3 separate regions of the Homo sapiens genome follow, and regions 2 and 3 are each linked to region 1. Evidence: promoter capture Hi-C in 16 types of primary human blood cells and fetal thymus (Javierre and others, 2016). All regions are on one chromosome and are shown on one strand. The core of a region is centred on a gene start or on the middle of the fragment in contact, and the rest is flanking DNA. Distances in the headings are between cores, read along the strand shown.

Region 1 (4,840 bases), core at 735-3,234:
ATGCTCCTGCCTCGGCCTCCCAAAGTGCTGGGATTACGGGTACAAGCCACCACACTGGGCCTACTTCTTTATCAAAGAAGCCCTTCCTGAACAACACAGAAACCCCCCTAGAGGGTCCGTAATGAGAACCGAACAGAAAAACCCCCAACTCAGGTTTGCTGGGCAATCCTTCTTTTCCACAGAAGCTGGACCAGGTTCTGTTACCATTAAAAAAATACTGTATTCAATATTTTTAAAGACAAGAAGGGAAAGAGAACAGGTTCTTGCAAAGAGAGGTACAGCCTCGACTCCTTCCAAGTACACACGATCTCCCGTGTACTCGGGGCCCACACCCAGCCAGCCATCACGGGACCCAGACAGGGTCAGATGGGATGCTGCCGGGAAGGCAAGGCAAGGCAGGGCCCTATTCCATCTGCAGCATCTGAGCCTCGGTTTGGATGATGTGTTGCAAAGATTTTTTACTTGTACAGCTGAGAAGCAGGTCACTTAGTTTCTCAAGGACCAGCCGGCCTCAGTGCACAACTGAAGGTCAAGCGACTCTTACAGCCCTGTAGCCTTGCCGTGTGACACCCAGGTGACCTGTCTCTGCCAAAGTGCTGACTGTGCTCGCAGTCCTTGGAATGCACTTAAGTTTTTAATAGAAAGGACCTATAATTAGGGCAGTATCTGATGCTCTGATCTGGGAGAAGGAGAAAAGGAAAACAGCCCCTAGGATTCCTGCCCTCAGTTCAGCACAGCACAGGACGCCATGAGATTTTCAAAACCTGACATTCCCCAGGGAAGGGCCGACCCTCTTCAGCGAGGCTTACTTGAAAGACGCTTGAATCGCAAAGTAAGGTCTTGGCTTTTCCCCACTCTCAGAGAGACTCCAGGAGGACTCCGAGACTCCCAGACCAGCCCTCCGCCCCTGCCCTCAATCTCAGAATTGCTGAACTCTGGAAAGTCAAGATCATCTAGAACAGAAATACAAGGGGCTGGGGCCTGAGGCTAGAAACGACCAAAGACAGAATAAAAAGCACAGTCCTTTGTAAACTGTACAGCAGAGACACGGCAGCTCGGGAGTGGCGGAGTGCACCAAGCTCACTGTGGCTTGGGGTGGGGTGGTGGCGTGGGACTGGCAGTTGCCGGCTCTCCAGCCCGGGACAGTTACCTAACTCGTCTCCCAGCCTGTTTCCCCATGGGCAGCAGAGACAGCCAGGACACAGTGAAGCAGGTCACAAGGGGCTCAGAGTGTCCTCCCCAGCCCCGTCCAAGGAAACAGGGCCCGGCTCTGGGGGCGAACTCTGTCCCCACTACCCCAAGGGGCTGTGCCCTGGGGCAGGCACAGCGGGGCTCCTTCGGGAGGGAGCGAATCTCGGGCAAGGCTGGCCTCCTCCCGCTGGCCCAGGACAGCCTCGGGGGCGCCAGCAGGCACTGCTTGCTGTGGGTAGGGGGTGTCCAACCTAGACGCGGCCTCTGGGAGGGCAAGACCGGGAGGGGTCGGCCTGTGTCGGGGGCTCCTGGAAAAGCAGCGCCACCGCCACCCACCTGACGACATGGAAGGCCCAAAGCAGGCGATCTGTGCGAGGCCCGCGCGCGGCGCGGACGATGCTGAGGTACAAGTAGAGCGCAATGGCCACGGTCCAGAAGAAGGAGCTGGTGTTGGCGAAGGTGGACAGCGCGCCCTGCAGCACGCAGTCCCACGACGGGCCCGCGAAGTTCTGCAGCACTCCGTAGAAGTAGGAGGCGGCCGAGAGCAGGTCGGCCAGCGACAGGAAGAGCAGCAGGCGCCGTGCCCGGCTGCGCAGGTCGGGCCACAGGGCGTGCGTGGCCACCAGCAGGCCCGAGCCGAGCGCGGAGAGTGCGCACGACAGCAGCACCACGGCGCGCTCCGACGGCACCAGCTCGGTGGGCGGCGGGGACGGCTGCATGGCGTGGGGGGCCAGGAGCCGGAGCGCCGCGAGGACAGAAGCCGGGCCGCGCGTGCGGCCACGCCGCCGCCGTCTGGGCACCGAGGCGCCCTAGGCTCGCGTCCAGGCGCCCGCCCCGCCCGCGTCCGGCCGCTCCCCCGCCCATCTGGGCCCCGGGCCCTGAACCCCGTCCACGCCCTGCGCCCCGCCCCTATATCCCGGGCCCTGAGCCCCGCCCACGCGCCGCGCCCCACCCCGGTACCCCGGCCTTTAAGCCCCGCCTACACTCCCAGCCCCGTCCCGCCGTCCCAGGCCCTGAGCCCCGCCCACAATCCGAGCCCCGGACACACGTCCCCCGGCCCACATGCCCTTCCCGCCCACACGCCCCCCCCCCGCCCGTGTGCCCCCGCGTTGAGACTGGGACTTAGAGCTCCGCCCACGCGCCCCGATCCCCTGTCCACAGGGCCCAGAGACCTGGGCCTAGAGCCTAACCCACGCGCCCCGCTCCGCCCACGCACCCCGCCACACCCCTGTGTTCCGGGCCCTGACCCTGGCTCAGGTGCCCTTCCTCGTCCCGTTGCCCCGGGCCCTGAGCCCCGCCCCCGCCACGCCCCTGAGGCTTCCAAGCTCCACCCGGTGCCCGAGGCTCCTGAGCCCCGCCCACGCCCTCACACCACGCCCCTAAGCCCCTAGGTCCCTAAGCCCTACCTCAGGGCACCCCCAGGTCCCAGCACCTGTCCCTCCACGCTCCTCCAGGCCCACCCCTGCTCTTGCCAGGTGTCTGGGACATCCAGTCCTGTGAGAGGAAGGGCTGGCATTTTTAGGGCTAATATTACTTTCCCTCTTTTCAGCCAGCTTCTGTGTGTGTTGTGAGTGGAAGGGCGTGAGGATCAGAGGCATTCTTTCCACTAGCAACAGAAACAGCTCTCGGGTATGATCCTCATTCCTTCAGCCGTGATCCCGACGTGTTCACAAGTTGGTGGTGACTTGGGGAAGCCGGCGTTTCCACCTTTTCTTAAAATAAGCATGCTATTTTTTAAAAACCATAGCTAACTAGGTGTGATTTTTAAAAAATGAAATGCTAGGCAGGGCATGGCTTTTTCTTTAAAAATTTCAAACTTTGTAATTAAGATGTAATTCACATACCATAAAATTGGCCCTCTTAACCGAACAATTCAGTAGTATGTTCACAAGTTTGTGCAACCATCATTATTATGTAATTCTACAACATTGTCATTACTCCCAAAAAGAAATCCTTATCCCTCAGCTGTTAGCCCTCAGTTCTCCCCGACAGCCCTGGCAACCACTCTTCTACCGTGGATTTGCTTATTCTGCACATTTCCTGTAAATAGACTCATATGCTCTGTGGCCTTTATGTCTGACTTTTTTAACTTAGCACGTTTCCAAGGTTCATCGTAGCATATGCAGTGCTTCATTCCTTTTACTGCCCCGTAATATTCCATTATATGGATATACCACCTTTTTTTTTTTTTTCTAGAGACGGAGTCTCCCTCTGTCGCCCAGGCTGGAGAGCCGTGGCATGATCTCGGCTCACTGCAACCTCTGCCTCCCGGCTTCAAGCAGTTCTCCTGCCTCAGCCTCCCGAGTAGCTGGGACTACAGGCACACGCCGCCACGCCCGGCTAATTTCTTTTCTATTTTAGTAGAGGTGGGGTTTCACCGTGTTGCCCAGGCTGGTCTTGAACTCCTGAGCTCAGGCAATCTGCCTGCCTTGGCCTCCCAAAGTGCTAGGATTACAGGCATGAGCTACCGCGCTCGGCAGGATATACCACATTTTACTTAGCTATTATTCATCAGCCGATGGACATTTGGGTTGTTAACACTTTTTAACTATTAAGAATAATACCACTATGAAAATTTGCATACAAGTTTTTTTGTGGGTGTATGTTTTCAATTCTCCTATGTGTATACCTAGGAATGGAGTTGCTGGGCCATACGCAACTTTATATTTCACCTTGTGAGGAACTGCCAAGGTGTTTTCCAAAGTGACTGTACATATCATTTTACATTTGCACTAGCAATGAAGGTCGCAATTTCTCTACATTCTTCCAAAACTTTTTTTTGAGACAAGGTCTTGTCGCCGAGGCTGGAGTGCAGGTACAACCACAGCTCACTGCAGTCTCAAATTCCTAGGCTTAAGAATTCTCCCACCTTGGCCTCCCCAGTAGTTAGGACTTCAGGTGCATGTCACCATGCCCCACTAATTTTTTTTTTTTTTTTTTTTTGAGACTGAGTCTCGCTCTTGTTGCCCAGGTTGGAGTGCAGTGGCGTGATCTTGGCTCACTGCAACCTCTGCCTCCCGGGTTCAAGCGATTTTCCTGTCTCAGCCTCCTGAGTAGCTGGGATTACAGGTGTGCACCACCACAACCTGCTAATTTTTGTATTTTTAGTAGAGACAGGGTTTCACTGTATTGGCCAGGCTGGTCTTGAACTCCTGACCTCAGGTGATCTGCCCGCCTCAACCTCCCAAAGTGCTGGGATTACAGGTGTGAGCCACCTTGCCTGGGCCCCACTAATTTTTTTTTTGGAGATGGGGTCTCACTGTATTGCCCAGGCTGGTCTCAAACTCCTGCCTTGGCCTCCCAAAGTGCTGGGATTACAGGCGTGAGGCCACCTCACCCAGCCTTCCTACATTTTGTATTATCTTTGTGATAATAGCCATCCTAGTGGGTGTGAAGTTGTTCCTCATTGTGGTTTTGATTTGCGTTTCCCTGATGAATAATGCCCTCAAACATCTTTCCATGTGTGTATTGGACATTTGCATATCCTCTTTGGAGAAATGTCTGTTCAACTTTCTTTCTTTCTTTCTCTCTCTCTCTTTCTCTCTCTGTCTCTCTTTCTTTCTTCTGTTCCTTTTTTTTTTTTTTTTTTTTTTTTGAGACTGAGTCTCGCACTGTCACCCTGGCTGGAATGCAATGGCGCGATCTTGGC
Region 2 (4,840 bases), core at 1,352-3,851, 430 kb after region 1:
CCCCCCATAAGAGATTGTGTGTGTGTCTGTGTCTGTGTGTGTGTGTGTGTGTCTGTGTGTGTGTCTGTGTGTCTGTGTGTATCTGTTCCCTCCCCTCAATTAGGGCAATTGTTTAGTAAAATTTAAATCAAAGGAAAAAGGCCACTCCATGTTTTAATACAGGAACAACTTCCACACCACACAAAAGACAAACTATTTTCATTACAGTCCCACCGGCTTCATTGGTTAATACAGCCACAGCTACACAATAATGAGCCATCACTTATATATGAATACTTTAATTAATTAATTAATTTTGGGTTTTTTTGAGACAGAGTTTCACTCTTGTTGCCCAGGCTGGAGTGCAATGGCGTGATCTCGGCACAACCTCCGCCTCCCAGGTTCAAGCGATTCTCCTTCCTCAGCCTCCCAAGTAGCTGGGATTACAGGAATGTGCTACCACGCCCGGCTAATTTTGTATTTTTATTAGAGACAGGGATTCTCCATGTTGGTCAGGCGGGTCTCAAACTCCCAACCTCAGGTGATCTGCCCGCCTTGGCCTCCCAAAGTGCTGGGATTACAGGCGTGAGCCACTGTGCTCGGCATGAATACTTTTAAATCAGTTTATTTTATTGACATCAAAATATAAACAATGGCGTTAGTAAGTAAAATTTTAGTTATAATGTTTTGTCAGAAAGGTGTTTGTAAAGTGGCACTTTTCACCCAAGAGCTATTTTATTTAAGCTTTATTTCCTCAGCTTTATTATATATTTTTAAAATTCTGGGCTGGGCACGGTGGCTCATGCCTGTATTCCTAGCACTTTGAAGGGCCAATGCAAATGGATTGCTTGAGCTGAGCCCAGGAGTTTGAGACCAGCCTGGGCAATGTGGCGAAATCCCATCTCTACAAAAAATACAAAAAATTAGCCGGGCATGTTGGCGTGCACCTATAATCCCAGCTACTCAGGAGGCTGAACTTAGGAGTTGAATATAACTGAGCATGATATTCAGATCTCTCAAACGGATTCTTGGGCAAGAGTGTGTTCAAGACACATTTATCAGGAAAGCTACTTATCATTGTAAAAATGTATTTGGGAAATGTTAGAAAAAGACGTAATAAAATGCAGGTGCTCTATTGCAAAAACCACACATTTAGCACTTTTAGGCACAATTTACGTAAGACAGGATGTCCTTGAGCCCAGGAGATCAAGGCTGCAGTGAGCTGTGATTGTGCCACTGTACTCCAGCCTGGGCAATGGAATAAGACCCTGTGTCAAAAAAAAGAAAGATTCTCTCACACAACTATTTAATAACTTTCAAGTAAAGGACTACTTTTAAAAAATTGTGGGTACATAGTAGGTGTATACACTTACGAAGAAAACTCCTTTTACGTGGTAGTATTTCATTGATTTTGCACAACCTTAGCAGATGAGTACTCAGGCGTGACGTTACCTCTATTTTAGAGAAGAGGACATGCAGGTTAAGGGCTAAGTGACATGCCCAAAGTCATGTTCAATGTATATCCACCTTGCTTCTAAGAAAGACTTGAAGCCGCTAAAGTAAAGTAAGAAATGAACAAGCCCCAGACACAAGGCTGAGCCTCTGCTGCTTCTCCGCGAAGGCAGCAGCAGTTCCCAGCTCAGAGACTCCTAGGACTGCACCCTTCTGCCTCCGTGGCTATTGCTTCTGTTTCCTTTGCTGTGCTGCAGCCTTACAACCTCTGGCTGTTGGAGGGTCCAGGGCCCAGACCCTGGCCTTCTCTAGCTACTGCCACTCCTGTGGGCGCACTTAGTTTCATGGCTGTAAATACCATCTGTAAGCTGGCAGCCTTTCTGCTCTGAGCCTCACACGCTCCATCCGGCTGCCTGTTTGACAGCTTGGATGTTTATTAGCCATCCAAGAGTAACATGAGCAAAACAGAACTCCACAAAACCTACTGCTCCCAGAGTCTTCCCTGTCTCTGTTAGAGGCAGCTCCATCTTTCCAGCTACACAGATCTCAAGCTTCATAGTCATCCTTGGATCTTATTTCTCAGCCCTGCAGCAAATCCTATCAAGTCTACCTTCAAAATAAATACAGAATCTTACCCCTTCTCACTACTTCCTCCACCACTGTCCTGATGGAAGCCACCGTATCTCACCTATATTGGTGCATTCACTTCCTGACTGCTCTGGCTTGAAAGCTTGCTGCCCTCTACCCTCAGTCTGATCTCAGCAGAGCACCCAGAGAACCCTCTGCTCAGATCCTCTGCTCAGAGTTGCTGTCTCCCTCTGGGTAAGAGCTACAGCTATCCCTGTGGCCTACTAGGTTCTACACGATTCTCACCCTTCCCATTACTTCTGACTTTTCATCTCCTATTTTCCCCTTTGCCTCTCCAGCCTCCTTTTTGTTCCTTTAAAAGGCCAGGAACATTTCCCACCGCAGGGTGTTTGCAGTAGACATTGTCTGCACGGCTGACGTCCGCTGTCATCACCTTGCAGGAAGACCCTATAGTGACCATGCTATTTAAAAGCAAACTCTCCGCAACACTCCAGCCCGCCTTCCTGCTTTATATTTTTATCCGTAGCACTTACGTCCATCAACATACAGTGTAGTTTACTTATTTCTATTCTTTTCTCCCTCTTCACCACCCCCTCCAATGGGACTTCTTTGGAGGTAGTGACTTTGGTTTCTTTTAATTACTGAAATCGTCCCCAAGCATCGAGAATGTTGCCTGTCACATAGCAAGCATTCCATACAAATTGAATGCATGAGTTTTGGCATGTCAGGAAGATATTGCATATAAAGGGCTTAACACCCTCCCTCCGTGTAAATAATAAAAGCTGCTGTCATTATAATAGCTACTCTCTGCTTTTAAACACAAGGTTTTGTTTTTTTTTAACCTTAAAGTCTTTTATCTCTTAATAGAGGCAAAAAAAAAAGGTGGGGGGGAATATCCTATTACATAATTCTCATGTGAAGAAAGCATACTCTTCGGGGGAAATTTGTATCTTTTCCTGTTAATAAGTTCTAAAGGCAGAGTCTGTAACTCAGGACTTACATAAAAACAATATACCAACTTAGGAAGCTTTAGGGGGGCTTAACAGAGGGTGGCTCCTTTTCAGGCTGCTACCATGTGGGTTGAAGCCACCATCCTCTCTCACCTGGATTATTGTACAGCTTTCTGTTTCTTCATTAACCATCCCTAAGCTAACGGCGGTGACGATGGTTTACAGAGAGGGTCTTTATCTAGTAAGTGATCAAACAAGAACAAGGGTACAGGCTTTTGTCTTATCTACAAAGCCCGTGTTAGTTTCCTGTTGACATTTTTGGAAGACACTTTGTTATTCAAAAACCATACAAGGCTGGGCGCAGTGGCTCACCCTTGTAATCCCAGCACTTTGGGAGGCCAAGGCAGGTGGATCACCTTAGGTCAGGAGTTAGAGACCAACCTGGCCAACATGGCGAAACCTCGTCTCTACTAAAAATACAAAAACCAGCCGGACATGGCAGCACGTGCCTGTAATCCCAGCTTCTCGGGAGGGTGAGGCAAGAGAATCACTTGAACCTGGGAGGCGGAGGTTGCAGTGAGCCGAGATCACGCCACTGCCTTCCAGCCTGGGCAGCAGAGCGAGACTCCATCTCAAAAAAAAAAAAAAGAGAAAAGAAAAAAAACCCATGCAAATAACATGGTCATTCGTTTAAAAGTTGTCTGCTTGTGGCCGAGGCGGGCGGATCACGAGGTCAGGAGATAGAGACTATCCTGGCTAACACGGTGAAACCCTATCTCTACTAAAAATACAAAAAATTAGCCAGGTGTGGCGGTGGGCGCCTGTAATCCCGGCTACTCGGGAGGTTGAGGCAGGAGAATGGCATGAACCCCGGAGGCGGAGGTTGCAGTGAGCCGAGATCGTGCCACTGCACTCCTGTCTGGGTAACAGAGCAAGACTCCATCTCAAAAAAAAAGTTGTCTGCTTATTAATAGTCTTACTCATTTGGGGAATACTACTTTAAAAGACTTGTCAGAGAACAGAATTTGTTTATAGAAAGTTTATTTTCAAAATTCAGAGAAAAAAATATTCTCTATTCTGTTAAAGAAAAGTATTCTGTTAAAGAAAAAAATTCTCTATTGAAGAACCTATCTCGAACCTATCTTTTTTTTTTTAATAGTTACTTAAAAAGCAAAAAGGCAATATGTTAACAGATTCAGGTATCTGCTATTAAATGTGCCAGAGTAATAAATAGTATATGTATTTCAGGTATTTGCTTTTAAAAAAAATAAAAATCTTCTGGCTTAATATTTTCCAGCAAAGTTCTTACTATTTAAACTGCTGAGACACATTCTTTTTTTTTTTTTTTTTGAGGCAGAGTCTTGCTCTGTCGCCCAGGCTGGAGTGCAGTGGCACCATCTCTGCTCACTGCAACCTCTGTCTCCCGGATTCAAGCGATTCTCCTGCCTCAGCCTCCTGAGTAGCTGGGACCCGTCACCACGCCCGGCTAATTTTTTTTGTATTTTTAGTAGAGACGGGGTTTCAGCGGTATTAGCCAGGATGGACTCCATCTCCTGGCCTTGTGATCCGCCCGCTTCGGCCTCCCAAAGTGCTGGGATTACAGGCGTGAGCCACCGCGCGCAGCCCTCTTTTTGTTTTTTCAAGTGCCTTTTTCATTGAAAAGTAACGTGTTAGTGATCTCCTATCTTATCTTTTAGGAACCACAGTGTTCAGATGAGACATTTGTCTTGGATTAGTCTGTGCTATGCATATTATGATATAAAACAGTGAAGAGAATAAAATGCTCCAAACAAGACCCTGATTTTTTTTTTCCATTTTTTTCCTAAATGAAAGTTTGTGACTGTGGGAAAATGAGTCTGGATCCTTCTGGG
Region 3 (4,840 bases), core at 1,062-3,561, 410 kb after region 1:
CTCTACACCTGGCATGTCATACATATATACATATATTTATGTCTGTAATCCACCTTGCTTTTTTACTTTATAAGTCAACTTTCTTTCTTTTTTTTCTTGACAAAAGTCTTGCTCTATTGCCCAGGTTGGATGGAGTGCAGTGGCACTATCCCAGCTCACTGCAACCTCCACCTCCCGGGTTCAAGCAAACCTCCACCTCCTGGGTTCAAGCAATTCTCCTGCCTTAGCCTCCCAAGTAGCTGGGATTACAGGCGCCCGCCACCATGCCCAGGTAATTTTTGTAGTTCCTTTTTTTTTTTTTTTTTTTTTTGAGACGGAGTCTCGCTCTGTCGCCCAGGCTGGAGTGCAGTGGCGTGATCTCAGCCCCCTGCAAGCTCCGCCTCCCGGGTTCACGCCATTCTCCTGCCTCTGCCTCCCAAGTAGCTGGGACTACAGGCGCCCACCACCATGCCTGGCTAACTTTTTTGTATTTTTAGTAGAGACGGGGTTTCACCGTGTTAGCCAGGATGGTCTCAATCTCCTGACCTCGTGATCCGCCCGTCTTGGCCTCCCAAAGTGCTGGGATTACAGGCGTGAGCCACCGCGCCCCGCCAATTTTTGTAGTTTTAGTAGAGACGGGGTTTTGCCATGTTGGCCACGCTGGTCTCAAACTCCTGGCCTCAAGTGATCAGCCCACCTCGGCCACCCAAAGTGCTGGGATTACAGGCTGAGCCAACTCGCCTGGCCTACTTTATGGTCAACGTTTCTAAAATACATTATAATTAACATACAATAAAATGCACCCATTTTAAGTATGACTTTTAACGAGTTTAATTCTCACTGTATGGGCCGGGCGCAGGGACTCAAGCCTGCAATCCCAGCACTTTGGGAGACTGAGGCGGTGGATCACCTGAGGTCAGGAGCTCGAGACCAGCCTGGCCAAAATGATGAAATCCCATCTCTACTAAAAATACAAAAAATTAGCTGGGCATGGTAGCGGACACCTGTAATCCCAGCTACTCAGGAGGCTGAGGCAGGAGAATTGCTTGAACACGGGAGGCGGAGGTTGCAGTGAGCCGAGATGGTACCATTGCACTCCAGCCTGGGCAACAAGAGCAAAACTATGTCTCAAAAACAAAGATTCTCATTGTATGTATATGCCCTGATCAGGGTATGAAACATTTTTGTCACCCCTAAGAAGTTTTTTCCAGCCTCTTTGCAGTCAGTCCTCTCCTATCCCCGGCCCCCAGCATCCATCCACTCATCTGTTCTCAGTCACTAAAGATTAGTTTTACCTTTTTTAGAATTTCATGTAAATGAAATCATATACTTTTTATGTCTGGTTTCTTTCTTTGCTCTTATTATTTATTTTATTATTATTTTTTGAGATGGAGTCACTCTCTGTCTCCCAGGCTGGAGTGCAGTGGTGCGATCACGGCTTACAACAGCCTCAACCTCCCAGGCTCAAAAGATTCTCCCACCTCAGCCTCCAGAGTAGCTGCGATTACAAGCACACACTACCATACGCAGCTTATTTTTAAAATTTTTTATAGAGTGAGGGTCCATCTGTGTTGCCAGGCTGGTTTCGAAATCCCAGGTTCAAGCAATCTTCAGCCTCTCAAAGTGTTAGAATTATAGGCGTGAACCACCACGCCCAGCGTCAGGGCTTAAGCCATCCTTCTGCCTCAGCCTCTCAAGTAGCCAGGACCACAGGTGTGTGCCATCACACCCAGCTATAAAAATCGTTTTACACTTGATCTTAGCCAAAAGGCCGAGAAGGGATGTAAAAATAATTTAAAAATTTTTTAATATTAAAATAGAGTTGGGTGCCGGGTGTGGTGCCTCACGTCTGTAATGTCAACATTTTGGGAGGCTGAGGCAGGCAGATCACTTGAGGCCAGGAGTTCAAGACCAGCCTGGCCAACATGGTGAAACCCTGTCTCTACTAAAAATACAGAAAAATTAGCCAGGCATGGTGGCACGTGCCTGTAATCCAGCTACTCGTGAGGCAGAGGCAGGAGAATTGCTTGAACCCAGGAGGTGGAGGTTGCAGTGAGCTGAGATCATGCCACTGCACTCCAGCCTGGGTGACAGAGTGAGACTTCATCTAAAAAAATAAATAAAAATAAATAAAATAAAATAGAGATGGGGTCTTGCTATGTTGCCCAGGTTAGTCTAGAGCCGAAATGATCCTCCCACCGTGGCCTCCCAAAGTGATGAGATTACAGAGGTGAGCCACCACACCCAGCCTGTAAAAATAATTTTTTTCTTTTTTGACACGGAGTTTCACTCTTGTCACCCAGGCTGGAGTGCAATGGCATGTTCTCAGCTCACCACAACTCCCACCTCTTGGGTTCAAGCCATTCTCCTGCCTCAGCCTCCCAAGCAGGTGGGATTACAGCCGCCCACCACCATGCCGAAGTTAATTTTTGTATTTTTAGTAGCAGCTTATGGGCCAGGCTGGTCTCAAACTCCTGACCTCAGGTGATCTGCCTGCCTCAGCCTCTCAAAGTGCTGGGATTACTGGCGTGAGCCACCGCGCCTGGCCTAAAAATAATTTTTAAAATTTTTATATTAAAATTGCTGCTAGCAAAACCTTTTTTTTTGTATATTGACCTTATTTCCTGTGATCTTGCTAAATTCACTAATTAGTTCTAGTAGTTGTTATATAGATTACTTAGAATTTTCTAGTAAACAGTTACATCATCTATGACTGAAGACAGTTTCACTTCTTTATGATCTTTACACATTTTTTTTTCTTGCCTTACTGCACTGACTAGGGCCTCTAGCACAACATTGAGTAAGTGGTAACGGCAAATATCTTTGCTTATTGCCAATCTTAGGGGCAGGTGGTCAGTTATTTAATGTTGTGTGTGATGTTAGCTATAGGTTTGGGGTAGACGCTTTATATCAGATAGAGGAATTCCCTCCTGTTCCTTGTTTGCTGAGAGCTTTTTTTCATGAATAGGTGTTCAGTTTTTTCAAATGCTTTTCTGCATCAATTTACATGGTCATCAGGTTTTTTTCCATTATTCTCTCTTTCTCTTTCACTGTTTTTTTTTTCTTTTTTTCCTTTTTTTTTTTTTTTTTTTTTTTTTGCTGTTGACACAGCCCCAGGAGGTCCTGGGAACATGTGTCCCTGTTATTCTCTTAATATGCTGAATTATATGGATTGATTTTTTGAATGTTAAACCAATCTCTAATTCCTGGGCATCTCTCATTTCGTCCTGATGTATTATCCTTTTTCTATATTGCTGGATTTGATTGCCAATGTTTCATTAAAGGTTTTTATCTATTGGAATCTCTGTTGTATACCCAGTACATGGCCATGGCCAATGCCTGAGCTGGTGTCAGAGGAGCTCTAGAAGTCTAGGAAGGGGGCCATCCTAGTCAGGGAAAATAGCAGGTTCAAGCCAGGCGTGGTGGCTCACACCTGTAATCTCAGCACTTTGGGAGGCCAAGGCGGGCGGATCACCTGAGGTCAGGAGTTCGAGCCCAGCCTGGCCAACATAGTGAAACCCTGTCTCTACTAAAAATACAAAAATTAACCAGGCATGGTTGCGGGCGCCTGTAATCCCAGCTACTCGGGAGGCTGAGGCAGGAGAAACGCTTGAACCCAAGAGGTGGGGGTCGCAGTGAGCCGAGAACGCACCATTGCACTCCAGCCTGGGCAACAAGAGTGAAACACCGTGTCAAAAAAAAAAAAAAAGAAAAAACCAACAAAAATTAGCCAAGCATGGTGGCATATGTCTGTAATCCCAGCTACTCAGGAGGCTGAGGCAGGACAATCGCTTGAATCTGGGAGGTGGAGTATGCAGTGAGCCAAGATGGTGCCACTGCACTCCAGCCTGGGTGACAGAATGAGGCCTCCTCTTAAAATAATAGGCCAGGTGCGGTGACTCACGCCTGTAACCCCAGCACTCTGGGAGGCTGAGGTGGGCGGATCACGAGGTCAGGAGTTTGAGACCAGCCTGACCAACATGGTGAAACCCTGTCTCTACTAAAAATACAAAAATTAGCCCAGTGTGGTGGTGCATGCCTGTAATCCCAGCTACTCAGGAGGCTGAGGCAGGAGAATTGCTTGAACCCGGGAGGCAGAGGTTGCAGTGAGACGAGATCGTGCCACTGCACTCCAGCCTGGGTGACAGAGCAAGACTCCATCTCAAAATAAATAAATAAAAATTAAAAAAAACATATAATAAAAATAAAAAATTATTTATTTTTACTTTTTTTTTTCTTTTGTAGAGACAGGGTTTTGCCACGTTATCCAGGCTGGTCTTGAGCTACTAGACTCAAGTCATCCACTCTTCTCAGCCTCCCAAAGTGCTGGGATGACAGGAGTGGGCCACTGTGCTGGGTTTTCTTTACTTCTTTTTCTCAGATATCTCATGCCCTAGTATGGCTTCCCCTTCTCCTAGGCCTGGGAGCAATGGCTTTAATAGTAACCACTGTATTTGCATTTTGGAGGACTGCTCCTAAGAGCTGTTTTTATTTAAAGAGTCCCAGCAATCAAATACAGATTGGCTGGCTAGCTCCCACGTTTCCACACAATTCCCTCCTACTTAAGCTCTCTATGTTTACACACAGGACATCTAACTGCTTGTTCTGGTCAAGGTACAGCTTTCCGGAGCTCTGAGAGACGGAAGAGAAAGGGTTGGTACGTTCTGCAGGTGAATGGTGGTCTGCTGAGAGAGAGACAGACAGAGAGACATAGTCCAAGGTAACAGGAAAGCTTCTGGCACTGGTGCCTGTGCAGTCAGTGGTGTCACTGCCAGGACAGGAAATAGAGGTAGAGCAGGTTTGGGGGAGGGGAAGAATGATAAGTTCAATTTGGGACCTTTATTCATTAGCTCCTTGGGCA

Evidence for each region. Contacts are between HindIII fragments. The CHiCAGO score rates a contact against its expected background, and 5 or more counts as called.
Region 2: a fragment that was not itself captured here is called in contact with the fragment with the promoter of GPR157 in region 1 in 1 of 17 cell types (fetal thymus); the score reaches 5.8 in fetal thymus.
Region 3: a contact is called between a fragment that was not itself captured here and the fragment with the promoter of GPR157 in region 1, in 2 of 17 cell types (fetal thymus and M1 macrophages). The highest score is 5.2, in fetal thymus.

Annotation. Positions count from the first base shown.
Region 1 is chr1:9,127,118-9,131,957 of GRCh38, forward strand. GPR157 (G protein-coupled receptor 157) reads right to left here and starts at 1,985. Exons shown (of 4, transcript NM_024980.5): 1 at 1,528-1,985. The coding sequence starts at 1,910. RefSeq lists silencers at 1,842-2,191, 2,252-2,571 and enhancers at 3,273-3,342, 3,363-3,482, 3,773-3,862. The HindIII fragment of the contact is 8,185 bases long and covers 1-4,840 here.
Region 2 is chr1:9,556,649-9,561,488 of GRCh38, forward strand. All of the region lies in intron 2 of SLC25A33 (solute carrier family 25 member 33), which reads left to right. Among named protein-coding and RNA genes, the nearest start is that of SLC25A33, 20 kb to the left of the region's middle. The HindIII fragment of the contact is 885 bases long and covers 2,160-3,044 here.
Region 3 is chr1:9,533,509-9,538,348 of GRCh38, forward strand. No RefSeq gene overlaps it. Among named protein-coding and RNA genes, the nearest start is that of SLC25A33, 3.5 kb to the right of the region's middle. The HindIII fragment of the contact is 4,795 bases long and covers 1-4,709 here.